Linked DNA regions of Homo sapiens: regions 1, 3, 4 and 5 are each linked to region 2. Evidence: promoter capture Hi-C in 16 types of primary human blood cells and fetal thymus (Javierre and others, 2016). All regions are on one chromosome and are shown on one strand. Each heading gives the region's core, a stretch centred on a gene start or on the middle of the fragment in contact. The rest is flanking DNA. Distances are from core to core; before and after follow the strand shown.

Region 1 (4,845 bases), core at 1,965-4,464, 1.3 Mb after region 2:
TTTATACTCTGCCCTCCACCCTTTCAGGCAACAGACAAGGCACTAACATGTTTCAGAAATTTGTTAACAGAGAAAACAGTAATTTGTGCTGTCATCTCCTAGGTGAAACAAACACCCCTGTGTCTTCTGTTCTCTCTAGGAAGGATGGAGGTGACCTCCTCCCTTAGAAGCCTCCTCCATACTGAGAGGAGGGAGAGTTTTCCCAGGATGTACCTCTTTCAGACATTTTTAAAAGCTTAGTTCTTCCTTCCAAATTTGGTGGGCTATTTAATTGAGACATGTAAAATGTGAATGTGGGTTGGGTGCAATGGCTTTTGCCTATAATCCCAACAATTTGAGAGGCTGACGTGGGAGGATTATTTGAGCCCAGGAGTTTGAGACCAGCCTGGGCAACATGGCAAAACCTCAGCCCTACAAAAAATACAAAAATTAGCCGAGCATGGTGGCACGTGCCTGTAGTCCCACCTACCAGGGAGGCTGAGGTGGGAGAATCACCTGAGCCAGGAGGTAGAGGCTGCAGTGAGCCATGATCATGTCAATGTACTCCAGCCTGTGTAAAAGAGTGAGAACCTGTCTCAAAAGAAAAGAAAAAAAAAATTGAATGCATTCAGGACAAATAAATGCCATGAAATCCAGATTCTCTGACTCTTCCTTCAGAACCTATTTGCTCTCCTGCTGAAGAGGTCCCCCAGGATTTGATCACAGCCTGGTGTCCCAGTATCAGAGAACCCAACCAACATTAGCATTATAACTATCAGAGCAATGACCATTGTTTGAGGGCCCACTGTGAGCTTACTGTGTTATCTGATTCAGCATGAGTGGATCACCTTCTTAGAAATAGGACTGTCGGCCAGGATGTGGTGGCTTATGCCTGTAATCCCAGCACTTTGGGAGGCTGAAGCAGGTGGATCACGAGGTCAGGTGTTTGAGATCAGCCTGACCAACATGGTGAAACCCAGTCTCTACTAAAAATACAAAAATTAGCCAGGCATGGTGGCGTGCACCTGTAATCCCAGCTACTCGTGAGGCTGAGGCAGGAGAATCGCTTGAACCCAGGAGGAGGAGGTTGCAGTGAGCCGAGATTGCACCACTGCACTCCAGTCTGGGCAACAGAGCAAGACTCTGTCTCAAAAAAAAAAAAAAAGGAAAGAAATAGGATTATCCAGGCTGAGGGTGGTGGCTCACACCTGTAACCCCAGCACTTTGGGAGGCCGAGGCAGGTGGATCACTTGAGGCCAGGAGTTCAAGACCAGCCTGGTCAATTTGGTGAAACCCTGTCTCTACTAAAAATACAAAAATTAGCCTAGCATGGTAGCAGGTGCCTGTAATCCCACCTACTCGGGAGGCTGAGGCATGAGAATCACTTGAACCCAGAAGGCAGAGGCTGCAGTTTGAGCTGAGATCGCACCACTGTACTCCAGCCTGGGTGACAGAGCAATACTCTGTCTCAAAAAATAAAATAAAAAAAGAAAAAAAGAAATAGGATCGTCCATGGCCGGGCACAGTGGCTCATGCCTGTAATCCCAGCACTTTGGGAGGCCGAAGTGGGTGGATCACCTGAGGTCGGAAGTTCAAGACCAGCCTGACTAACATGGAGAAACCCTGTCTCTACTAAAAATACAACTTAGCTGGGTGTGGTGCTGCACGCCTGTGATCCCAGCTACTCGGGAGGCTGAGGCAGAAGAATCGCTTGAACCCGGGAGATGGAGTTTGCAGTGAGCCGAGATCGTGCCATTGCACTGTAGCCTGGGCAACAAGAGCGAAACTCTGTCTTGAAAAAAAAGAAAGAAAGAAAGGAAGGAAGGAAAGAAAGAAAGAGAAAAGAAGAGAAAGAAATAGGATTGTTCAGTAAAATCAGGCATTTTTGTCCTGTCCAGGCAGTTCTGCCTTTACAGGTCAGAGAAAGAAAGGAGAAGAGTTGGTTTACATCCACTTTCTCTTTTTGAGAAGAAAGTCACCCTCTAAACTGCCACATAGGCTATTTTGCTGGGAGCTCTTCCATTGTCTTTTTAAAATTTTAATGTGTAGTAATCTTGACTCTTGAATGAGGGACCATCAGAAAGAACTTCCTAGTCAAGTTGTAAGGGGGCGGAGGTGTAGACCTTGTTCCAGGTTCTGCTCATTTCTTCCCCTGCCCCTCCCAGACCTGTCACAGATTCAGGGCTGGTCAAATCTTGTCCCAAAACCAAAGAAATCTGCCCCAGAAGACTTCTGAGATTGTCACAAGATTTCTAGTTATCAGAACCAAGGCCATCCAGGCCTCCAACTGAATCTAGATAAAAACCATCTGAATTGAGAACATTCTAGAAACAGAGATCAAGGACAGGATGATACTTTGTAACTATGGGAGGGAATATGGCTTCTCATTTTTCAAGAGAAAATAAAAACAAGATTTCTTGACGTTCTTTCCACTGAATGCTAAAGAAAGCTTCATTGTTAGCTGTCTCCTCTCCCAAACAATAAGGAAGCAAACAAAACAGAATAGAACACCCCTGTACTTCAGAGGTCTTTTTTCTCAGTGCTGCATGTTTTATGCATTATGAACTGAGGTTATCTTTTTCTTGTTAGGGTTTACATAGAACCGAGATAGCCATTAGATATTCTGATTATTAAAGAAGTTAGAAATATTTTTTTAACTCTAAAGGGGCTTCTCTTATTTAATTCTTTTAAAAATCTATTACTGTAATGCAGAGCATTGTCTTTGTCATTATAAAGAATTTTTAAAAATGATAACTAATACAGTCTTATTTTTGAAATTGTCTTCTAGTTCAGAAGGGAGAGGGAGAGTAAACCAAGAATATGAAAAAGCAAGAAAAGCATTAAGTGCGAAGGGATCTTTTAAAAACTTGTGTTAGGAGTGGTGGAAGGTAGTATTTCGTAGTGTTCCTAGGATTTCACTAATGAGCAGATTGAGGATACAAATGATTAATAAAACACATTATCTTGGCCTGAAGCATCTTCCAGGCTAGTTGAAAGACAAGCATGTAAATCAATTGATTACAGTTAAAAAGACAAGAGCTTTAAGGAATAGAAATGACATGCTGTGAAAACTGAGAGAAGAGAATGACTAGGTCTGCTCAGGAAAATCAAGAAAGGCTTCACATAGAAGATGACATTTGAGCTGGGTCACCAAATGTGGTAGTTTTAAAATATGTTCACAAATTTTTAGATACTTCTCCTTTCAAGAGGTGGAACTTAACTCCCCTCCCTTTGAGTGTGGACTGGACTTAGTGACACTCAGCCTCCCAAGTAGCTGGGATTACAGGCACCCACCACCATGTTCGGCTAGTTTTTGTATTTTCAGTAGAGACGGGGTTTCACTGTGTTGGCCAGGCTGGTCTCGAACTCCTGACCTCAGATGATCTGCCTGCCTTGGCCTACCAAAGTGCTGGGATTACAGGCATGAGCCACAGCACTTGGTGTCAACTTCTTTGTGCTGTCTACTAGTGACACTAATAGAAAATGGCAGAAGTGACAGTGTACTTCAAAGATGAGGTTATCAGCAGCATTATGGTTTCCTGTTTACTCTCTTCCTTGGATCACTCACTGTGAAGGAAGTCAGCTGCCATGTCACGAGGACACTCAAGCAGATCTATGAAGATGACTACATGGCAAGAAAGTAAGGCCTCCTGCCCACAACAGCCACGTGGGTGAGCCATCTTGGAAGTGGCTCCTCCAGTCCCAGTCAGGTCTTTGGATGACTGCAGCCTCAGCCAACATCTTGACTGCAACTGCATGTGAGACCATGAACTAGAACCATACAGCTAAGCCACTCAGAATTCCCAACCCCAGAAACTGTGAGGTAATAAATGTTTATCATTGGTTTAGATCACTACCTTTTGGGATAATTTGTTATACAGCAATAGATTCCTAATACCCCAGATGAGTATCAATTTGCTCTATTGGCAGGTGGGAGGCATCCAAATAGAACTGAAAGGGTCCCAGTGAGTGGTTGAGTATGGCTGGAGTGTAAGACATGTAGTTGTGACTCTTAAGCTTTTAGTGTATTAGCAAATGCCCTAAGTATTCTTAAAAGTGGAATTTCCTTAAATTAATGAATATCGTTGGCCAGGTGCAGTGGCTCATGCCTGTAATTCCAGCACTTTGTGAGGCCAAGGCAGGAGGATCATTTGAGACCAGGAATTCAAAACAGGCCTGGGAAACATAATGACACCCCATCTCTACAAAAGAAAAGAAAAAAAAAAGAATATTGTGGAATATGGCTACTCACTGCACTTTGGGGGAAAAAAATTAAATTTTTTGCCGTGACCTGAAAGCTACTTCTCTAGTTCACCCTGTGTCACAGTCCTCCTTGCTCACTACACCTGAATCACATTGGCTTTCCTTATTCCATCTCCCCCCCAGGAGTTCTGTGCACACAGCTGCTTCTGTTTAGATAGCTCTTCTCTTTACCTTCCCTCTGGCTGACTCCTGCTTCTCTTATAAGACACAGCCTGCATGTGCCTTCAAGGAGATCCCTTTTCTGACCATCACAACTGTTGTTCTTCTCCGTAGTGCTTGTTTGTTTCTTCCATCAGAGGAATTACTCTCCAAACTCATGTTATTTGTGTTATTTGTCTGTTTGCATGTTTTTGTCTGTCTTTCACTCCAGACAGTACATTCCACTATGCAGGGGCCACTTGTTGATTGCAGTATCTCCAACACGTGGCATGGTGCCTAGCGTGTGGTAAGTGCTCATAAAATACTGATTGTAGCTATCTTCCCCTTCCTCTTGTGTAGTAAAACCTTTATATTAGGTATTCCAGTTTCTTTTTTGTTTTGTTTTATGAGATGGCGTGAGCCATCACGCCCGGCCAGATATTCCCGTTTTAAGACTATTTGTCG
Region 2 (5,506 bases), core at 471-2,970:
AAGGGAGACATTGAGACGATAATTTAAAGAAACAAGGTGGGCAAATTTTTTCCCAAGGGCACAGATAAACCGCAAATCTCTAATTCAATGCAACATTCTTCACTAAATAACGGGAACTTTTTCATTTCATTATTACGAAGATTAAGTCATTGAACTTAAGTCCATAAAACGTTATTCTGACAAGACTTTGAAATCATTTCGTAGACTTAATCCTATTTAAACTTCTATCCATTTTATCCTAATGCAATAGCACTGCAATCAGACGGGCTAAGTCAATTCAATTGCTAACTCTTCTGAAAACTTACTCTGGACACACTAACACGAAGTACCACAGTGGCAAAAGTAATAAAATCAGTTTTGTGCGGCTCCTGCCAACTCTTAACTTGGAACCACTAAGTAGGTCAGGCCCGAGGCGGGCAGAGCCCCAACTGGACTGCGCGTCCCACACCGGGCACCTCACATTTTGGCACAACTCCAACCAAACGAAACCCAGCCGCTCGGAGCCCACTCCACCCCCTACGGCGGGACGTTAGAGGCCGTCTCCGCGTTTCACCGACTAGGACTGGGGCTCCCGATAGCCGGGAGGCCGAAAGCCGGGCCCAGTCCTTCCCCAGCTGCCCCCACCCGGCCTCGCCTCCTTCATGGGCGCCGGAGCGCCGGGCACGTAGCGCGCGCTGACGTCAGCCCTCCCGCGGGCCCTGTCCCTGCCCCCACCCCGCCGCGCGCCCGGAACGCCGAAACCCCCTGGAACGCCGCCAGCCTTCTAAATCGGGGCTGTTGCTGGGGCGCAGCGGCGCTTCTCATTGGCCGACTCCTGGGAGCCAATCAGAAGCGCCAGCGCATGCCTCCCCTTCCCCCTTCTTCCCCCAAAGCAAGAATGGAGCGGGCGTCACGGAAACTTCCCTCCCGAGTAAACAGCCGCCCCCCCCACCCCGCCCCCACCCGCCCGACCCCCCGGGTGCAGGGTCTGCAGCCCCAGAGCTCGGCCGCGACCGTCTAAGGGCCCGACTCCCCAACGGCCCCCTGGCGGCCTCACCTCTTTCCTGAGGGGGGTTTGGCCGGGAGCCGCGGGCCGCAGCGGGGCAAGGTCGGGGCTGGCTCCCTCCGTGCCGGCTGCGGCTGCAGGACTCGGGGCCAAGGCGGCGGCCGGGCCCGGGACCTCCTGCGCTCCGCTCGGGCCGGTCGCGGGGCTCCGGCCGCCCTCCAGACTCGGCCGGTGCTGCTGGTACTGGTGGAAGCGGCTGGGCAGCTGCCCTGCGGGGCTGGCCCGCACCTTCTTCTTTCGCCGCTTCTTCGGCGCTGCCCGAGGAGTGCCTCCCGCCACGGCGAGGCTGCGGTTGGGCAGAGCTGCTGGAGCGCGAGGCTGGGGGGTCAGACACGGGCCATCTCCCCCTAGGAAATGAGGGAGGAAGAGGGTCGGGGGCAGTGCCCGGGGGTCCGGGATCCGGGGTAAAGGAGGCGGAGCCGTGGTCACCATCGGGAGGGCCCCAAAGTAACCTCGGGAGGAAAAGCCAAGCGGCGCAAGGCGGCCACCCAGGACGAGCGGCTCCCGCTGCGGGACGGAGACGACAGTCATAGCGCTAGGAAGCTTGTCGCTCAGCAACGAAGAGAGAAGGAGAAGGTGAATGAAGCCAGTGAAGATAGGGTGGCGGCGATGGATGCTGCTAGGAGAGCCTGAGAAGATCGCGGAACATGACTCGGGCGGTGGCGGCGCAGCAACAAATAGCCACAGCCCCAGCTCCGAGTGTTGTTATCGGAAGCTCCGCCCCGCGCCCGCCCACTTTCCTGCGAAAGCCCAATTAGAGTGCGACAAGGCAGGCCACGCCCCCTCGCTCCGCCTCCGCAGCTTCGGGTAGACACACACAAACAACCAGCTTGCTGCAGCCTGGCACAAAGAGGGCGCACTGCGCAGGCGCTGCCAGCGAGCTCTTTTGGGAAGAATCGGTCCCGCGAACAATGAAATTGGGTTTCCGCCCCACCCTCTTTACTCCTCCCCAGCACGCCCCTGCGCTTCGCCGGGCTAGGGAGTGGTGGTACTGAAATGTCCCGGCGGAGTTTGTTGATGGGGGTGGGGAAGGGAGGGGGCAGGGGGAGGGCGGCAGGAAGAACGGGGGCTGGGAAGAGGGGATGACTTTGGCAAGGCCACGGTTGCCTCCTCCGCTGCTGACCTTGGGGAAGTATCCGTTTTATTTTCAGCCCAACATAACAGCGTTATCATTTTAAAACAAAGATTTCTAAGTACGCTGTAAGGATTTCTTCCCTAGCAATCGTGAAGAAAATCAGTCTACATTTAAATTTTATCTACTGAAGTATGGCTCACGATTCTTTCATTTACTTGGTTCGGCATCGCTGCTTATTAGTCTCGGTGATCAGAGTAAAAATCAAAGTGACTTACTGATTGAATTAGCCCCTCGATGTATAAAAAGTTCTCCGTAAATCCATAAATGGAAGTTGGAGTTTTTACTGATTTCATACTTGAAGGATTGTGAGACTTTGGGATCAGAACATTGTGCCTGGTTACTTGAGGAGGCGGCAAGCCGGCTTGCGTCTCAAAGGGAGAAAGTGAAACAGCTCTGCAACATAGAGTATTTTGTTAGCTGCGCGTAAATAGAAATTTTTCGCGATCTCCCCGCACTGCTCAACCACAAAAAAGAATTGTGGCCATAATTTATCAAGCATTTATGTTCCAGGAACTGTTCTTTACATAGATTGTCTCACTTTAACCTCACAACAACCCTTACGAATAGGTACTAAGAAAAATAGATCAGACCTCAGCTCTGCGAAGTAGGCAGGCTGTCATTCTCTTCCTTTCACTACTAATGCCTGGGGCAATTGTTTAAAGGCATTTTGTTCCTGATTAGCTGCCTACGCATTATCTTTAAGTTTCTGAAATTTAAGATACAAAGAACAATGTATAGCTAGTCAAGAGCCCACGATATTTTAATGTAAATTGGTAAACAATTTAGGAGCTGCCTCTTTTCCTTTAAAAACCTACTTGTAACTTGCTAATCCGAGTGTATATTCAGGGCAGCTTGAATCTATGGTCCTGGGTTGCAGTCCTCAAGCTTGGCCTGATTTTGCCTCAGCTTCTTTTTGGAGGGACAGTACTGTATTTTATTCCCATTTTACAGCTGGGGAAACAGGCTTAGAAAGGCTAAAGGACTTGTCAAAGATCAAACGGTAAGTTAACATCAGAATTTGATCTCCAGTCCAGGTACTGCAAGACAAAAGTTTTAATTTTTTTTTTTTTTTTTTTGAGACGGCGTGTCACTCTGTGGCCAGGCTGCAGTGCAGTGGCGCCATCTCGGCTTACTGCAACCTCCGTCTCCCTGGTTCAAGAGATTCTCCTGCCTCAGCCTCCCTAGTAGCTGGGATTACAGGCACCCGCCACGCCCAGCTAATTTCTGTATTTTTTAGTAGAGACGGGGTTTCACCTTGTTGGCCAGGATGGTCTTGATCTCCTGACCTCGTGATCCGCCTGCCTCGGCCTTCCAAAGTGCTGGGATTACAGGCGTGAGCCACCGCGTCCAGCCCTGCCACACTAGATTCTACATTATTAGAAGACCACAGTAATCTTACACTTCTGTATCCTCACCGCCTCTACAATAGTTTTCAGCTTTGGAGTAGTAAGCAATTAGTAAGCAATGAAACGTTTTATGATTGATGGCAAAGTTGGACAGATTGCATATCCAGAAAAATGCTTCCCAATCACTTTATAAACTTTTTTTTTTTTTTAGACGGGGTTTCTTTCTGACACTCAGATTGGAGTGCAATGGCATGATCTCGGATTACAGCAACAGCCGCCTCCCAGGCTCAAGAGATCCTCCAACCCCAGCCCCCCACGCCCCTGAGTAGCTGGGACCACAGGCACACACCACCACTCCTGGCTAATTTTTTGTGTTTTTAGTGGAGACAGGGTTTCACCATGTTGCCCAGGCCGGTCTCAAACTCCTGAGCTCAAGCCATCTGCCTGTCTCAGCCTCCCAAAGTGATGGGATTACAGGAGTGAGCCACCAAACCCAGTCAACCTTATAAGCTTTTAAAACTACATTTCAGGCCAGGCGTGGTGGCTCACACCTGTAATCCTAGCACTTTGGGAGGCCGAGGCGGCTGGATTACCTAAGGTCAGGAGTTTGAGACCAGCCTGGCCAACATGGCGAAACCCTGTCTCTACTAAAAATATAAAAATTAGCTGGGCATACAGGCTAATGTGCCTGTAATCCCAGCTACTAGGGGGGCTGAGGCAGGAGGATCGTTTAAACCTGGGAGGTAGAGGTTGCAGTGAGCCGAGATCATGCCACTGCACTCCAGCCTGGGCAACAGAGCAATACTCCATCTCAAAAAACAAAAAAGAAACCAAAAAAACTCCATTTCATTCCAATTGCTGAATTTTACTCATTTTTGTTTCTGCAACATGTAATGCATAGTAAGTGCTCATGTTCATTGGATGGATGGGAATCATGGACATCCAGAGCTGTAAAAGAATCTACTTTTTCAAAGCACTTTCCATCTGTCATCTCATTTTATTCTTACTCTAGCACTTTAAGGTTGATATAGAGAGGTCCTATTTAACGTATGGTGTAAATAAATTTAAATATATAGTAACTTGCTTGGGGGGGGGGGTTCACAAAATGAGGTAGGAATAACTCGAACTCCTGATGCCTAGTCCAGTGTTCTTTTCACTATATCCCATGATTTTAGGCTTGACTTTATCTGGGGATAATATCATACTGTCCTAGAGAATAATTTACCCTTCAGGGAGCTGGTCATTGGTAGCCAGCTCTGTGGGGCCCTTGGTCAAAGATACCTATTATTGTCTATGTGTATTTCTTGGGTGATTGTTGGAGTAATTATGTGTATAACTTATCATTTTGAGGCCTTAAGTGTAGGCTTCATGTTTGCCCTGGGTTCTGTACTGTAAGAAAAGTAACCTTGCAGCTGTGACCACCTGGGTGATGGGTGCTGAGATTGCTAAAATGGTGCCCACCACTAAGAAACAGAATGGGAGCTGAAATGGGGCACTTAGAAGAGAGAGGTCGAGGTTTTATAAGCCAGATGATTGGATTTAATGTTACTCTGTGTGGGTAGTCTTTGTAAACCCTTAGTCTTTAGTAAAGTCTAATTTTAATGTTTAAACCTAAGCGTTACAGGTTTAAACATATAGTGTTAGCTGTGCTATATGATATAAAGGAAAAAGATCAGGCTGGGTGCAGTGGCTCACGGATGGCAAGGTGGATGGATCACTTGAGGTCAGGAGTTGGAGACCAGCCTGGCCAACATGATGAAACCCTGTCTCTACTAAAAATACAAAAATTAGCCAGTTGTGGTGGTGCATGCCTGTAGTCCCAGCTACTTGGGAGGCTGAGGCAGAAGAATCACTTGAACCTGGGAGGTAGAGGTTGCAGTGAGCCGAGATCACGCCACTGCACTCTAGCCTGGGCGACAGAGCAAGACTTCATCTCAGGGAAAAAAAAAAAAAAAAAAAAAATCAGATCCTTTTGCTTGG
Region 3 (4,846 bases), core at 2,148-4,647, 1.9 Mb after region 2:
TTTAAGTGTATTTAAATTATTCTGAGCTTACAGTGTATGAAATATTTTATAATTTTTGAAATCCACAAATCCAGCATTTGTTTCATTAGTGTTTGATGTTTTTTTGTCAGTAGCATCAATAACAATTTATGTGGCAAGACTAATCACTTAATGAAACTGATATAGGAAATTACTTTCATTCTGATTTTTAAAATGCTGTTTCACTCATTAAAAAACTCAAGTCTGGCGGGACGCGGTGCTCACACCTGTAATCCCAGCACTTTGGGAAACAGAGGTGGGTGGATCACTTGAGGTCAGCAGTTCGAGACCAGCAGTTCGAGACCAGCCTGGCCGACATACAGTGAAACCCCAAACCTCATCTCTACTAAAAACACAAAAATTAGCTGGGCTTGGTGGCGCACGCCTGTAGTCCCAGTTACTTGGGAAGCTGAGGCAGGAAAATCGCTTGAACCCAGGAGATGGAGGCTGCAGTGAGCTGAGATCGCACCACTGCACTCCAGCCCGGGTGACAGAGCAAGACTCCATATCTCAAAAATAAATAAATAAATAAAAATCTTTAAGTGATAACTTTACAACGTCACACACTCACAAAAAAGCGGGGGGGAGTCCAGCTTGCATGAGATTCTATTTTCCCAGAATTATTAATCCTGCTTACAAATACTGCTGACAAAAAAAGAATTTACAGTAATTAGCCTTAAAACTATCAGTGGACACTATTAGGGGAAAATGTCTTTCAGCAAAGCTAGACTTTAATAGTTTTCACTGATTATTATATAAAAACTGATTCGACTTACAAATGAAATACTTCCTATTATGGGTATCTTAGAGAAATTTTTTTATCTCTAAAATAAATCTTTAAAGACCAATTAAGAATGAGTGGGTACTGCAAAGTAGAGAAACTGAGAAATTTCAACAATTTTTAAATATTAAAATTCAAAGGAATGAGACTTTAATTTTGCCACAGGTACTCACCAGACCTATTTACCTAAGTAGGGAGCTTTCACATTGCACATCCTCCTAGACGTCACCACTTGATCTCACAGTTTTTGTTTTTAAGATTATGAACAGCCATCAAATAATTTGTGACAATAAAGTGCATACAGCAACGGAGATTCTTTTGTATGTGATCACGTATCCCCGACATAATAAAGAAAATATTTCAATATTTGGAAGCTAAAAAATAAGTGAAAATGTAATCTACTCAGCTAAAATGGTCAACCATTGTTCTACGTTAAGATCAGTATTTTTCCAAAACGAATTCTCTGTAATGATACACTCACAAGTTAACTCTAAATATGACCTGTGTAAATTGTGTCTTCTTTTTCCTCCTCAAGACAATCAAATCAAAGTCTTCACCAGAGCCAGCAACACTACCTTGAAATTTTAAACCTAAGTGTAAGGCTCGTAATGAAGTGCAAATGTAGTCCCAAACTCTCCGATTTTCACCATGGATGAAATGATTTTCATCACTAGCAAACAGTGTTATTAACATTCCAAATTCTGGTTAGAATGCAGTCACTGGTGAGCAGTGCCCTTGGGCAAGCAAAGAAAAGATTTGAAACTACCCAAAGCACAGATCCACATGAACCTCAGTCTTCTCCCACTTCATCAGGAAGCCAAATAGGAAGGACTCCAAGAAACAGGGGTGAGGGGGTGATCGGGACAGAAAGGATAGTGGAAATCATACTCCTCGAAGGGCGAAAGCAAATGAGAAACGGACTCTGGAAAAACCGCCCCAAAAGGACACTCAACCTGAGACAGATGTACAGGCACAGCTCCTCTACACTAAGGAGATAAAGCTTTACCACAGAAGTGATGCACCAAGCAAGCAAGTATGGGCAGGAGGGGACAACCTCCGCCAAGCACCCCCTCCCGAACGTCTAGCTCAACTAGAAGGGGTCGGCGGGGACTGCTCCTCCGAACATCAACAAAGGCCCCTTCAGTCCTAAGGCGAAACTCGAACAACAAAGGCCCGGAGACAGCCAGGACAGGGCCGGGGCTGGGGGGCGGGACGGATGAAAGCAGGGGAAGGCAAAGGAATCAAACCAGTGGGGGCGGAGGCCCGTCGGAGTGGGAAGCAGAGGCGCAGAGGCGGGAGGCGCGGTAATCCCCAGTGCACAATAAAAGGAGGAGGAGGAAGAGAACCTGGCCTCCATTCTCCTACTCTCTCCAATCCGCACCGTGTACATTTCCTCAGCCGCGGGGACCGCGCAGTCCCGAGTTCAGGGAAGGAAAGGGGAGGGGGGATTTTCCGCCTTGACCGCAACTCCCTTCCCCCAGCCAGGAGCTGCAGACGACAACAACCGCCACAACTGCAGCCACACAAAGGCGCCTTCCTTCTACTCCCGCTCCCACCCAGGCGGAGGCGCCGATGATGCCAAGGAAGCGGCGACCACCTCTCGGCCGCCTAGCGCTCGCTCGCCCTCTTCCCCCTCTAGCTGGGGAAAGGGGGAGGGGACCACCGGGCGCCCTCACCTGGCACAGCTGCTGACAGTAGTCGGTGGCCGCTTCCACGGCCGGTACCCGGCTCTCCCGCAGCTGTAGCTCCAGCTCCTGGAGCCGCTCGCCCAGGCGCTGCAGCTCCGCGACGCAGCCGCCTTCGCCGCAACTCAACCTCTCCTGCTCGGCCTCTTCGTCCGCCATCTTCACACCCCGCTCCGTCGCGTACGCACCTGGGTCACGTGATAACACAATGCCACGTTCGGCGGGGTCACGTGCCGGGCGCGCTTGCACGGCGCCGAGCACGTACAAAGGGCCCGATGGGGAAGATATGGGGGTGGGGAGAGTGGCGCGAGAGAGCCCGAGGGAGGTGAAGGCAAGGGGAAAGGAGAAGGGCGGGGTTGGGGCGGTGCGGAAAACGGCGGTTTACTTACCCCGAGCGGGAAGTGGGCAGCAGCGGCCGAAAGGGGCGGGCTGGTGAAGGCCTGCTCTCGGTCACGTGGGCGCCGCGACGGGAAAAAGCCTAGGGAGGGGCGACCCTCTCCGGCGTCCCGATCCCGGCGTGGCTTTCCCCAGTCCACGAAGTCTTCTACGGACATATCCTCCTGTTCCCCAAGAGGATGGCACAGGGAGAGTTCTGAGTGGTCTCGGGCAATGGCTGCATTTGCTGTTGGCCTGTAAGCAGGCCAGAAGCAGAGGAAGAGAGAGAAGGTAAAACCCGCCCATGGACCGCAAGCGTGAGAGCCAAGGCAGGACTATGAACTGTCAAAATTGTCTCTGACTTCTCACCAGGCCGGAGAGGAGGGATCTAGTGCGTGAGGTACCAGATCTCGTCTCACTTGACTCTCCTCCTCTTCAGCACCAAGAACGCCTGTCCCCTGGAAACACATTCTCTAGGGGGTGGAGGCAACAAAGGAAAAGAACAATTGGGTCAGAGCAGAATGAGGTTCAATCCTCAGTCTGGAGAACGGAGCAAATTCATGAAAAGCATAGTTTAAAAGAAGTCAGAATATGAACAGACCAGATGACTTTTAAACCACGAAAACATTTCTAGAATAAGTGATAACTAACTACTCTGTTTCACCGTGATTTAGACTCTACTACACTCTACAGAAATCACCAACAATGACAACAGGCTATATATGAAAGCTATTGAAAAGAAAGTAGGTCAAGGAAAAAAAAAACACCAATAAGGACTCCATTAAAAATCATAACGGAGGAGAGGAAATTGATGCTAAAATAAAACAATATTGTCGAGAATTATTATAAATATCTACAGCATTTTTTTTTCCTAATGCTACAAATAGAGGTAGCATTCTGAACCACATTTTACTTACAAGCTGAAAAGAATTAATACTTGGCACTTGAACAAAAGAGTAGAAGAGGTGCTACAAAAATCCAAGAGCTTAACCCTAAAGTTCTTAATAAAACTAATATTTTTTTTACCGTTAGAGCATTAGACAAAAGACCTATCTCTCTTGCAACTGAATAGTCTACAGAAATTTAGAAACAATGATATTGATGAGGCACCCAGTCTTTTCATTTACTCTGAGTGAAGTATATTTTTTTAGTACAAGGATCTAAAATAAAAATACTTCCCATTGTGGGCAGCGTCCTCTTCAAAAGATTTCTAGTAATTAATGGAAAGTGTTCTACATACTATGTTGTCCAGAATAAATGTTTTATAACGCATCAGTGATGGTGATGTTTTTAAAGCGGCATTATATAAGGTGACCAGGCACAGTTAAACCCCTTATGAAAAACAGTATCAGTTAATATTACATATTAACAAGGTAGAATCTTCAAATGTTTAATCTTCAAATGTTTACTCATGGAAGAGACTGGGAAGTACATTCAAAGGCTGAGAAGAGAGGATATAATAGTATCACTGAGTTGAAAAAGGAACAATTAAGGCAGCTAATGATTTTTAATATTTTCAGTTCACTTTCCCAAGTTAAGTATTTTAGATACCCAAACCAGGTTTCACCAGTTTATGTTATCTTAGGATTCCAGTGAAAAAATGCAAAAAGGGAAATATGAGGTTAGCCAAATGTACCCGTAAATCCAAGGTAAGGTATCACAGGTTAGCAAGCTCATTTCCACTTCAAGTATAATGGTTTACACCACACCTAATCTATAGAAAGAAAGAAAAAATGGGGGTTGAGGGGTGGGAGACATATATATCCAGATATTGATTTTTAAGAGAATTGCCTGATAATGTAGGTCATTCCTACCTCTTGCACATAACAACCCTAAAACTATGGAGACTTGATTAGCAAATTGATTCTGAGCACCATTACTATCTGGTAAATGTCCATCAGCATGGATGGCCATGTCTTTATGTTTATTTAGTATCTGTGAACCCTATGTCCACATTCCTCCATTTCTTCTCCTTTGCACACACATA
Region 4 (5,284 bases), core at 1,340-3,839, 1.5 Mb after region 2:
CTCACTGTAACCTCTACCTCCCGGGTTCAGGCGATTCTCCTGCCTCAGCCTCCTGAGAGGCTGGGATTACAGGCGCCCACCAACATGCCAGGCTAATTTTGTATTTTAGTACAGATGTGGTTTCACCATGTTGGTCAGGTTGGTCTCGAACTCCTGACCTCAGATGATCCACCCACCTCGGCCTCCCAAAGTGTTGGGATTACAGGCATGAGCCACTGCACACAGCCCTGTGCCTTATATTCTTATATCTGCAACTAGCAGAAGTGTGCGAAATCACATACATATTTAGAAAAATCATGTGATACCATGACAAACCTGTCATTACCTCCTTTCCAAATCCACCTGCAATTCAGTAAAGGAAAAAGGAGCTTCAAAGGAGCAAGACATGAGGAGTGATCAGAAAGGATCTTAATATAGGGCAGTGGTAGTAACATGGTTAACCATTTGGAACTGCTGGTCAAGTGATGGTGTTTGAGATAGAGGAAGGCCAACAGCCAGAAAATTTCACGATGAAAGAGACACTAAAATGTTTTGATATGTTTAAGGACCGGGCGTGGTGGCTCACGCCTGTAATCCTAGCACTTTGGGAGGCCGAGGCTGGCGGATCACTCGAGGTCAGGAGTTCGAGACCCGCCTGGCCAACATGGTGAAACCCTGTCTCTTCTAAAAATACAAAATTAGCTGGGTGTAGTGGGGCATGTCTGTAATCCCAACTGCCCGGGAGGCTGAGGTGGGAGAATAGCTTGAATCGGGGAGGTGGAGGTTGCAGTGAGCCGAGATCGCGCCACTGCACTCCAGCCTGGTAACAGAGCAAGACTCTGTCTCAAGAAAAAAAAGAAAAGAAAAAGAAAAAAAGCTTGCAGTTCCATAAATTCATGAAATAGTTCTTAAAGCTTCTTATTCATGTAAGGTCTCATCCCAATACAGACATTTGTTATAATACCAAAAATGCTTTCCTGAAAAATCTTACTTTCTGCAAGATACATAAAAATAAGAGGTGCTTATGCAATCAACAGGATTAAGGGATAGACCATTCAAAACCTACAGAACATTATAACCAGGACAAAATAAAACCAGTACCATTTCTAATAAAAATACTACCTTTGAATCTCTACTAGCATAACCTTAAACCCCAGGGCTTGTCCTTTTTCCTTGAGATGTAGTCTTTAAAAGCACTGCTTCTCATAAACCGTTTTAATCAAAATAAAAAATCAGATCCATGACATAGCCTTCTTCATCAATCCATTGTTTTAACATAGGGAGAATGTAGCTTCTTCATGTGCATTTTTCAGCTTTCTCAGACAGCTTAACTTCAGGGGCTTCCCGCTGCACTTACAATAGAACTCAAGGTCTTACTTTTTGTGGTCCAGAACAGCGCTGTCCAACAGAACTTTCTGTAATGATAGAAATGTCCTATATCTGCACTATCTAAAATGGTAGCTGCAGCCACATGTGATGATTGAGCACTTGAAATGTGGTTAGTGCAACGGAGAAACTGAATTTTTATTTAATCTTACTTTATTTTAACTCAAATTTAAATAGCCACATGTGGTGAGTGACTAACACATTGGACAATACAGCTCTAGGGCTTATCTTCTTACCAACTACACTATGTCTTGCAATTTCTTGCCATCTAGGTAGCCAACATGAGGAGGTCTATAAGATATCCCACCACACACACCCGCATCCACATTACTTTTTCATTCTCATTTTTCATGACGCTCCCACTCTTTGTCTACTTTCTGATTATGATTTTTAAATTCCTCTAATATGCCATTTTATTTCTATCTTCTGGGCCGAAGAAACATGCTGTTCTCTCTGCCCTCCTCGCCCTAATCCTTAACCTAACTTCTACTCATTTTTCAGGTCTCAGCGAAAGGGTCACTTTCTCCAAAAAGCCTCCGCTAACCCCCGACAACCTATATTAGGTTCTTCCCACTCTTCTGTTGTCTGCCTAGAACTCTTTTCCTTGCTAACACTTAAAATTTGTGATCGTCAGTTTATCTATGTTTACCGACTTTCTTGACTGCAGAAACTGAATCTGTTTTGTTTACCACTGCATCTTGGTACCTAACGGAGTGCTTGGCGCACAGTATTTGTGAGATGGAAAAATGAGAGACTGGGCCACATCATCAGGACATCCGACCTCCACCAACCAGAACTTAAAAATCCTCCTAGCCATACCACAAGGCAGATCCGCGTCCTCGCTCCCCAAGCAAAGTTGGCCTCAACTGATCTGGAGCAAGGACGCCTCAGCTCAGTACGCCGCTCCCTCCCTCCTCTCCAGCCAGGGAAGGGATGCCTACGTAACCTCGGCTTCATCCCTTCTTCAAAGGGGAATGAGGCAGCGGTAGAGCCACAGTGCGCATCGGCCACCACATACCTTAGACATCGAGGACGTAGCCATGGTCTTACTGACTCTGCGTATTCCAGATGCACTCGGGATTTCCCGCGCGCCCTCGCGGCTGCAGGGCAGAGGTTAGTGGCGAGCCACACGGCTCCTTGATTGGCTGGCATCACCCTCCGGGGCGGGTTTCCGGCGCGGGGAGGCGGGTCGTATAAGGAGGTGGGGCGAGGCCGGAACTGGCGGACTGCGGCGCACTTCCGTAGAGGTGGACATGGCGTGCGGCTTTCGCCGCGCTATTGCTTGCCAGGTATGGATCCCGGAGCGCGCAGAGGAGTCCCTGAGGAGCTAGGGACCCCAAAGGCCTTTCACCGCTGCGGGCCAGTCCTCAGTCAGCTGGAGGGTGGGTCCCACGGAATCCTGTTAGTTTCTACCACCTCCTCCCCCTTCTCTGGAGCTGGTGGAGCTTCAGAAGTCCTGTGGAGCGTCGGCTGGGATCAGTTTGTCTCGGTGAAAAGTAAACTTTGAAAGGTACCTGGTGCTTTCTTCTCTCCTTCCCACCCCACAGCTATGAATGCTTTACCTGGGTGGCGGCAAGTCATTAGACCATGATTAGACCCCATAGAAGTTAGTGTTCTTTACACTTTAGTGACATTGATGATGGATCTGGATTGTTCTTCAGAAGGACCTCATTTTAAAGCTGCTTATTTCTCTTGCAGTCACTTAGGCAGCCTACCCTAGAATTGTTTTTGGTAACGCCCAAAGATATAAGAGCTATCTGAGACTCAGTTTTTCTTGGTTCAGGGTCGTATTTGAACAGCTCTGTTGTGAGGAAGGGCTTACAAAATTGCAATATAATTGCTTTGTTTTGTTTTTCCTTTTTGTGGAGAACGGGGTCTCGCCGTATTGCCCAGGCAGGCCTCAAACTCCTGGGCTCAAGCTGTCCTCCCTCCTCTGCTTCCCTAAGAGCCGGGATTACAGGCCTGAGCCACCGCGCTGGGCAAAATTGCAGTATAAATGTGGAATTAATCAAAAAGAATTTTTAAGACTCATTGGCCACCCTTGCAAGGAAACTTTCTATTGTGGTCTTGGCTAACCCATTTCCTTCTGATTAATGGATGTACTAGTGGACGTAATTAGCCTGGTGTATAATTTATCTTGGCTCATTTTTACAGTATTTCTAGACATTTGTGGGGAAATCCCTCTGCCTTGTCTTTATGTTTATAGATGTACTGCCCTGTCCGGTGATAATTCGCCAAATATCACCAACATGACATTTTGTTAAGACAGCTGAATTTATTGCTCACTGGGATAAGGAAGAACACCACTGAGAGCTTTGGTAGTGTATTAAACTGGGAAAGCAAGGTCAGATTTTACTGATGGGTATGGCTTAAGGCTGGTCTTTCAGAGGGAGAGGGTAGGAGGGTGTTGGAGGAAGATGGCTTGATTAGGGTTGGACTCTGATCTGATACAGCGGTTTAAGATTGATAGGAAAAGCAAAGAGTGCAAGAAGCCTTAAGGCATAAACTATTGAGGTTTTCTATTGGAAGAACTAATAGGCCTGGCATGTGGTTCATGCCTATAATCCCAGCACTTTGGGAGGCCAAGGTGGGAGGATGGCTTGAGCCCAGGAGTTCGAGACCAGCGTGGACAACATAGGTAGACCCCGTCTCAACAAAATTTTTTTTAAAAAGTAGCCAGGCATGATGGTGCACCTCTGTAGTCCTAGCTGCTTGAAAGGCTGAGTCTGGAGGATCACTTGGACGGACCCACGAGTTTGAAGCTACAGTGAGCTATGATTGTGCCACTGCACTCCAGGGTGGGTGACAGAGCGAGACCCTGTAAACAAAAAATAAAAATAAAAAACGTGAAAAGCTAATAGATTTCTCATGAAGTTCTTATAATGAATGATTAAGTTATTTGGGCAGAAGTCTTCTAGAACAGTAAAGTTATGCTAATGAAGACAAAAAATAATAAATTCATGTTAATGTAGACAGTAAACCATATCAGGGAAGGTAGTTTTGGACCTTAGTATCTAAGCTGTGTGTAAGGGTGGACGTTTTCCATTCTTAGCCCTTAAGTAAAGATAGTGCCATGATGAGAAACAAATTGTGTTTAGTTTTGCAAAGGCTGTGTTCTTTGTAAAGACTGTAAATTGGACCAGGCATGGTGGCTCACACTTGTAATCCCAGAACTTTGAGAGGCCGAGGTGGGAGGATCCCTTGAACTGAGACGTTCAAGACCAGCCTGGGCAACATAGGGAGACCCCCATCTCTATAAAGAAATAAAAAACAAAACTTAGGTGTAGTGGCACACACCTGTGGTCCCAGCTGCTTGGGAAGCTGAGGTGGGAGGATCGTTTGGGCCCAGGTGGCTGAAACTAGCAAGCTTTGATTGCACCGCTGCACTTCAGCCTGGGGGACAAAGTGAGTCCCTGTCTCAAAAAAAAGAAAAAGATAAGTTGGAGAAACAAGAACTAATATATTGAGTATATATTTGTGCTAGTTACTACACATTCACATTTAAGCTCATGGCAACCCTGTGATATAGAAGTATTAACCTTATTATATAATTGAGTCAGTTGAGATCCACAGAGATTAAATAACTTACCCAAAGCCACATCATCAATACATTGTAGAGTTGGTTTATGAACAGAACTCTAACTTTAAAATTAGATCTTTCCTATATACTGTGCTCTTTGTGAAAGCAAGAAGCACAGTCCAATCATTGAACAGAATCTAATGGATTTATACAGCAGTGTAAATTATGCAGATATATATGTATTTCTCTGAATATAGAGTCATTGGGGAATGATCTGAAACTTGAGGATAAATAATAATATTTTCAATACGTTAGGACATGGGGAAAAAAGAGCAAAGAAAAAACATGTTCCGTACAGTTTGAGCATCCCTAAGCTGGAAATCTGAAATGCTCCAAAAT
Region 5 (5,527 bases), core at 2,547-5,046, 1.2 Mb before region 2:
AAATAAAAGTGCATCAAAATGGATGAATCTTACAAACAATATGGAAAGAAAGAAGCAAGATAGAAGAATATATACAGTGTGATTCTATTCATGTAAAGTTCAAAAGCATGCAAAACTAAATATGTTATTTAGGGATACATACATAGATGGTAAAACTATAAAGAAAATTAATATGATTTAATATGATTGTCACAAAAAGCAGTATAACAGCTACCTCCAGAGGTGAAGGAGTGGGTATGATAGAGAAGGGGCTCACTGGGGGCTTCTGAGGTCCTGGCAGTGTTTTATCTCCCAACCTGGACAGTGGTCCCAAGGATATTCTTTCTTCTTAATTGTTTTTAAAAACTGTCTATGTTTTTTATATATGTGTGACCTATTAGTAAACATTTTAAAGGATTTATGTGAGTTGTTATAGTAGCAAGATGACATTAAATAGAAATAACTGTAAATTGCTACATTTTAGTTAAAAATAATTGTTCAAGTGCACATGGGAACACTTGCTTGGTATTATTTCCTCCACAACATTGTGAGCCACCAGTGCAGTGTGATTCTTACAGAAGGCGACACCTCCTTAAGGCCACATTAAGAGAGCTGTCCCCTTTAGATCAGGGAATGTAATGTTCTCACTCAACTACTCTCAGGTCTGGATGTCCCATGTGTGGGATGCTATGTCTTGTCCCAAGGGATTTATTTTAAGAAAGATTTTCACCACAGAGGGAGCATTTTCTGTGATAAAGATGTTTAGGGGTCTGGAAACCTATCAGTTCTAAGAGTGGCCAAAGGAAGTGGGGATTTTCAACATGGAGAAGAGGAGATGTTGGGAGAGAAAGAGTGTCTTCCATCACTAGAAGTGGAAGCAGCCTTTCCTTGTTGCTTCCCTCTCTGTAATATACAAGTCCCTCCCTGTAATGTCTACCCTTGGAGGCAGGTTTCAAGTCCTGGATACTGGAGATGCCCAAGCAGAGGCTGTGGGACCTCCCTTAGACTTGACTGGGGCCACAATACCCACTGCCTGGTCCCTGGACCAGCAGCATCGGCATCACCTGGAGCTTGTTAGAAATGAAGTCTCAGGGCCACCCACACCTACTGAGTCTGAATCTGCACTTTCTCAAGGTGCCCCTGGGGTCTCACATAAACATCAAAATTTGAGAGGCACTGGGCTAAATGTCTCTAAGATCCCTCATGGTTCTTAAGATTTAATGATTTTATAGAATAAACTGTATGTTCAACTGAAAATTATCAGTTCATATGGTGACATTATCAATTTAAAACACCTTGGGATGTTACATGTCCACAGAACCATGTAAGTATTTGTTGCTAAATTAGTTTTAAATGGATTTGTCCAGTTTCCCCCGATGTCAAAGTTAGGTTGCTTATGTATTTGGGCACCTATAAGAATTAAAATATTACATAACGTTGTATTTTCTTCTTTCTAACATACAGGATTAGATTCTTGCTTTAAAATTCTCCATTAATGTCTTCAAATTTTTCTTTTATATTCATTGAAAATTCAAAAGCAGATTAGGGTTCTGAATACCTGTTAAGAATACTCAAAAGGGATATTTAAATAAATATATCTCATTAATACATTGATTTTATATTTAGCATATTTTTTCTTCTTATACATAGTCCATATTTTGACCTTATGGGAACCTTTGAAGTCTGAGTATTTTATAATGATTCTCCACAATACCTCTTTATCTTTTAGATTCTAGATCTGAGATCAGGCAAGTAAAATAGTTTTACCTTTTTCCCCTCAAAAGGCCATGACTAACAAGCTCATTTACTTTTTCCTTAAATATTTTGCTAATTATCCTTTTAACTGATGAAGTTCAAGTGGAATCCATGATTCATTTAATCTTTTCCCCTTTATGTAATTAGTCACTTGTTCTTTTGATGTTCCTAGCAAAACTAATATTTAAAGGGCTAGTCATAAAATTCCAAAATAAAAAGTTCTTAAATGACTTAAAATAAGAGATAAAATATGCTTTACTGTATAGTAAAAATGGAGAAAACGTCTCATGAATAGATGTTCTTTAAGGCTGTGAGTTATTTGATTTAAGCGTGTGTTACCAGGTCTGTGTTCTTTTGGTATATAGGACCAAGAAACTACTTTATGGCTTAATGTTTGCTGTACGTATGTCATCTAGATGAGATAATGTATGACAGAGGGCTTTATAAAATGATAAAGTAGTGTAGACTTTTTTTTTTTTTTTTTGAGACGGAGTCTCGCTCTGTCGCCCAGGCTGGAGTGCAGTGGCATGATCTCGGCTCACTGCAACCTCCACCTCCTGGGTTCAAGCGACTCTCCTGCCTCAGCCTCTTGAGTGGCTGCGATTACAGGCATGTGCTGCCGTGCCCAGCTAATTTTTGTATTTTTAGTAGAGACGGGGTTTCCCTATGTTGGCCAGGCTGGTCTGAAACTCCTGATCTCAGGTGATCCGCCCACCTCAGCCTCCCAAAGTGCTGGGATTACAGGCATGAGCCACCGTGCCTGGCCGTATTCTTTTTTTTTTAAGAGCAAGATTTAGGAAGATTACTGCATATTCCTATAGCGTTTGTTCGATTTTAGATTTTTTCAGAATGGTTTGAAATCACATATTCTAGCTTGAACTCTAAACCTGGTCTGTCCAGTATGGTAGCCATCAGCCACATGTGGCATTTGAGCATATGAAATGTGGTTGAGATGTGCTGTGCAATATACACCAGCTTTCAAACAAAAAGGATATATATCTCCTTGATAATTTTTATTATGTTGATTACATGTTGAAATGATAATGTTTTACATATATAGGATTAACTAGTAAATATTAAGATACATTTGGCCTGTTCCTTTTTACTTTTTAATGTGGCTACTAGAAATTTAAAATTATATGTGGTTCACCTTATACTTTGATTTCAAAGTGCTGATTTAGTCTCTAAAGTCTAGAGTGATTGAGAGCTCTCAGAGAAAAGAAGATCAGAGCTTAACAGAGAGTTTTAGAGATGAGGTGCCACCGACAGAATCCACTTACTTGAAGAAATCCCAGTCTGCACCTTTGCCCTACTTTTAGAGATTACTGCTTTCTTGAACCCACAAAGTAGAGCACTGGGTAGCAAGCATTTAATATCTACAATGTACAGAGCATTGAAGGGGGATTAAAATAAGTATCACACAGGTCCCTGCCTTTAGGGAAAACATATAGTCTACTGGGGAAGCAAGATATGAGCACATGAGTTGTTAAATCATGGCTTGAGAGATACATAGCTGTTCAATGCTCAGGTCCAAGACTGTTGCAAACAGACGGTTGAGGCACTAAAAAAAGTGCTTCAAAGGAAGGAAAGGTCTCCACGGCCTGGAAAGGTCTCCATGGCCTGGAAGGGTGTCCCACCAGAGGAATGCCTTGGCTGGGCACTGACGAGTGGGTAGAATTTCAGTGGGCAGAGAGAAAGGGGGCATGGCCAGGTAGGAGGCAGGGTAGAGTGGGAAGAAGGAGGAAAACATGGAAAAGCACAGAATGGTTGAGAAGTCAGTGAGAAGAAGAGATGGATTGAACTGTGAGCTGTGAGTAGAATCATTCTCTAGTCCACTTATTATTGAAGCTTTAATATTTGACATCGTCTCCTATAATATTATGTATCTTGACACTCTTCCGAAAATTATTTACCAAGTGTCTCAAAGTAGAGGTTAGGGCAGGACACTTTAACTTTGGGTAGAATAAATGTTGCATATCTTTGATTGTTAGGAAGTTCTTTAAATGGCAAAACTGATAATATTATCTTGCCAGTTATGTTTATACTAACATTTTGTGTAGAACCATGTAACTTTAAAGGCTTCTCGGATAAGTACATTATTAGTATTTCAGGCAGTAGTGCTCAGCATTTGTATATTCTTCTTGCTTAAAATGCCTTCAGTGTTATGTCATTTGATCTTTGCTGTTGGCTCCATTTTATAGAACTGGAAGCCAGAGAAGCTAAGATTGAATAATTAATGGTAGAGTCTGGAATTTGAACCTAGCTCTTAAGCTTCTTCCATTTTACTGTGTGAAACACACTAGTTTTCATTCCTGTAAGTCTGTTTCTTAAGAGAAGCTGATTAATTTTATTTCTTTTTAATTGAATGATAATATAAATAGGGAAAAGTATGCATATAACATATATTCATCTTACTGACGAATTTCCATAAAGTGAACACGCTGTTGTAACCAGTTCCCAGATTAAGACACAGCATTATCAGCGCCCTAGAAATCCCTCAGGCTTCCTTCCAGTAACTACTTCACCCGTGGTAGCCACTACTCTGACTTGGGAAAGCATAGATTTGCTTTGCCTGTTTTTGAACTTTATATCAATGGAGATACAGAATGTACTATTTTGTGTCTAACTTCTTTCACTCGATAATATGCACAGTTAACTCATATTGTGCATGACACCATATTGACTATGGTAGTTGATTTTTCATTCTCCATGCTATATAGTATTATATTGTGTGACTATACCACTATTTATTAATTTGTATAGTTTCCAGTTTGGGGCCATTATGAGTAGCAATGTGAAGATTCTAGAACATATCTTCAGGTGAACAACATAATTATTTGTGTTGGGCATATTTAGGAGTTAAATCAGGAAAGCAGTGTAATTTTTAAATGTCTTGTAGATGAGGCTGAAATTTGACTTTGTGACACTCTTCAAGAAAAGAAGTGAAAACCTCAAACTGTTGGTGTCTTGAATAGTATATCAAAATAAATACTAAGGCAGCCATTATGAAAAGGTCCAAGGTAGAGGAATTTTAATGCCCGAACACATTTTTTCAAGGGAGGATGAAAATAGTCAATTCTCATATAGAGAGAATTTGAAAGGGTTAGGATGTTAAAATACTGACGTTATATCACTCAGGTTTCTCTTACAGTTATATTTTTTTTCTTCAAGAGAACTTTTAGCAGGTGATAGTGGAAAACTAAGGTGTGATTGGTACCAAAATGACCATTGTCCCAGGGTATAATAAGGGATGAATAACTGGGGAGTGTATTTACTAGGAAATAAGAAAATGGGGTTGGGTTAAATGGCAGGAAGGTACATTCCAAAATCTATAATGCAAGCTATGGTTCTCAAAATTTTACTGAAATTTCCTCTCTCTCTCACTCTTTTGCTTAGCGTAATCTGTAGGCAAAAGAATTTGCATTCTTTTAAAGAAGGCAATTATAAATACCATAACTTGTTTTTAGAAAAAATCTTAGACGTTTATCCAGAGGCAACCTGTCTGAATGAAAATGTAGTTCTAGGATTTGCCAACACAAAAGACTTCAGTGTCTACCTTTAATGCTTATTAACATTAATGGTGATCATTTAAAGGTGTGTGTTTTATGTTTAGACTTATAGGTGTTGTTGATCTTAAGCAGACTAGGCAGAGAAATCCTTCACATTTTCTGTGCTCTCATTCAGGATGGCCCTAGGCATGTTACATGGGAAATGAGAATATGTGAATAAATACTCTCATACTTTCTTGGGCCTCAATGAAAAGAACATTTGTTACCATTTTTAGTCATAAATT

Evidence for each region. The method cuts DNA at HindIII sites, captures the fragments that hold promoters and counts their contacts. A CHiCAGO score of 5 or more calls a contact.
Region 1: a fragment that was not itself captured here is called in contact with the fragment with the promoter of PNRC1 in region 2 in 1 of 17 cell types (M0 macrophages); the score reaches 6.7 in M0 macrophages.
Region 3: a contact is called between a fragment that was not itself captured here and the fragment with the promoter of PNRC1 in region 2, in 8 of 17 cell types (non-activated CD4 T cells, fetal thymus, naive CD4 T cells and 5 more). The highest score is 14.2, in non-activated CD4 T cells.
Region 4: a contact is called between the fragment with the promoter of RARS2 here and the fragment with the promoter of PNRC1 in region 2, in 3 of 17 cell types (total CD8 T cells, total CD4 T cells and fetal thymus). The highest score is 8.4, in total CD8 T cells.
Region 5: a fragment that was not itself captured here is called in contact with the fragment with the promoter of PNRC1 in region 2 in 1 of 17 cell types (fetal thymus); the score reaches 5.4 in fetal thymus.

Annotation. Positions count from the first base shown.
Region 1 is chr6:87,741,018-87,745,862 of GRCh38, reverse strand. No RefSeq gene overlaps it. Among named protein-coding and RNA genes, the nearest start is that of AKIRIN2, 41 kb to the right of the region's middle. RefSeq lists an enhancer at 3,455-3,604. The HindIII fragment of the contact is 1,568 bases long and covers 2,431-3,998 here.
Region 2 is chr6:89,076,965-89,082,470 of GRCh38, reverse strand. It overlaps PNRC1 (proline rich nuclear receptor coactivator 1), which reads right to left and starts at 1,720. Exons shown (of 2, transcript NM_006813.3): 1 at 1,037-1,720. The coding sequence starts at 1,576. PNRC1-DT (PNRC1 divergent transcript) reads left to right here and starts at 1,891. Exons shown (of 1, transcript NR_187250.1): 1 at 1,891-2,309. RefSeq lists enhancers at 47-1,007, 2,526-2,615 and silencers at 916-1,295, 1,686-1,835, 1,886-2,095. The HindIII fragment of the contact is 1,477 bases long and covers 1,591-3,067 here.
Region 3 is chr6:87,153,389-87,158,234 of GRCh38, reverse strand. It overlaps ZNF292 (zinc finger protein 292), which reads right to left and starts at 2,670. Exons shown (of 8, transcript NM_015021.3): 1 at 2,476-2,670. The coding sequence starts at 2,643. LOC124901355 (translation initiation factor IF-2-like) reads left to right here and starts at 2,988. Exons shown (of 2, transcript XM_047419630.1): 1 at 2,988-3,259. RefSeq lists enhancers at 1,244-1,851, 2,363-2,702, 2,973-3,132. The HindIII fragment of the contact is 3,192 bases long and covers 1,802-4,846 here.
Region 4 is chr6:87,587,292-87,592,575 of GRCh38, reverse strand. It overlaps RARS2 (arginyl-tRNA synthetase 2, mitochondrial), which reads left to right and starts at 2,589. Exons shown (of 20, transcript NM_020320.5): 1 at 2,589-2,654. The coding sequence starts at 2,619. It overlaps ORC3 (origin recognition complex subunit 3), which reads right to left and starts at 2,441. Exons shown (of 20, transcript NM_012381.4): 1 at 2,384-2,441. The coding sequence starts at 2,407. RefSeq lists enhancers at 123-623, 624-1,124, 2,505-2,734, 2,498-3,459. The HindIII fragment of the contact is 3,839 bases long and covers 896-4,734 here.
Region 5 is chr6:90,276,214-90,281,740 of GRCh38, reverse strand. All of the region lies in intron 1 of BACH2 (BACH transcriptional regulator 2), which reads left to right. Among named protein-coding and RNA genes, the nearest start is that of BACH2, 18 kb to the left of the region's middle. The HindIII fragment of the contact is 423 bases long and covers 3,585-4,007 here.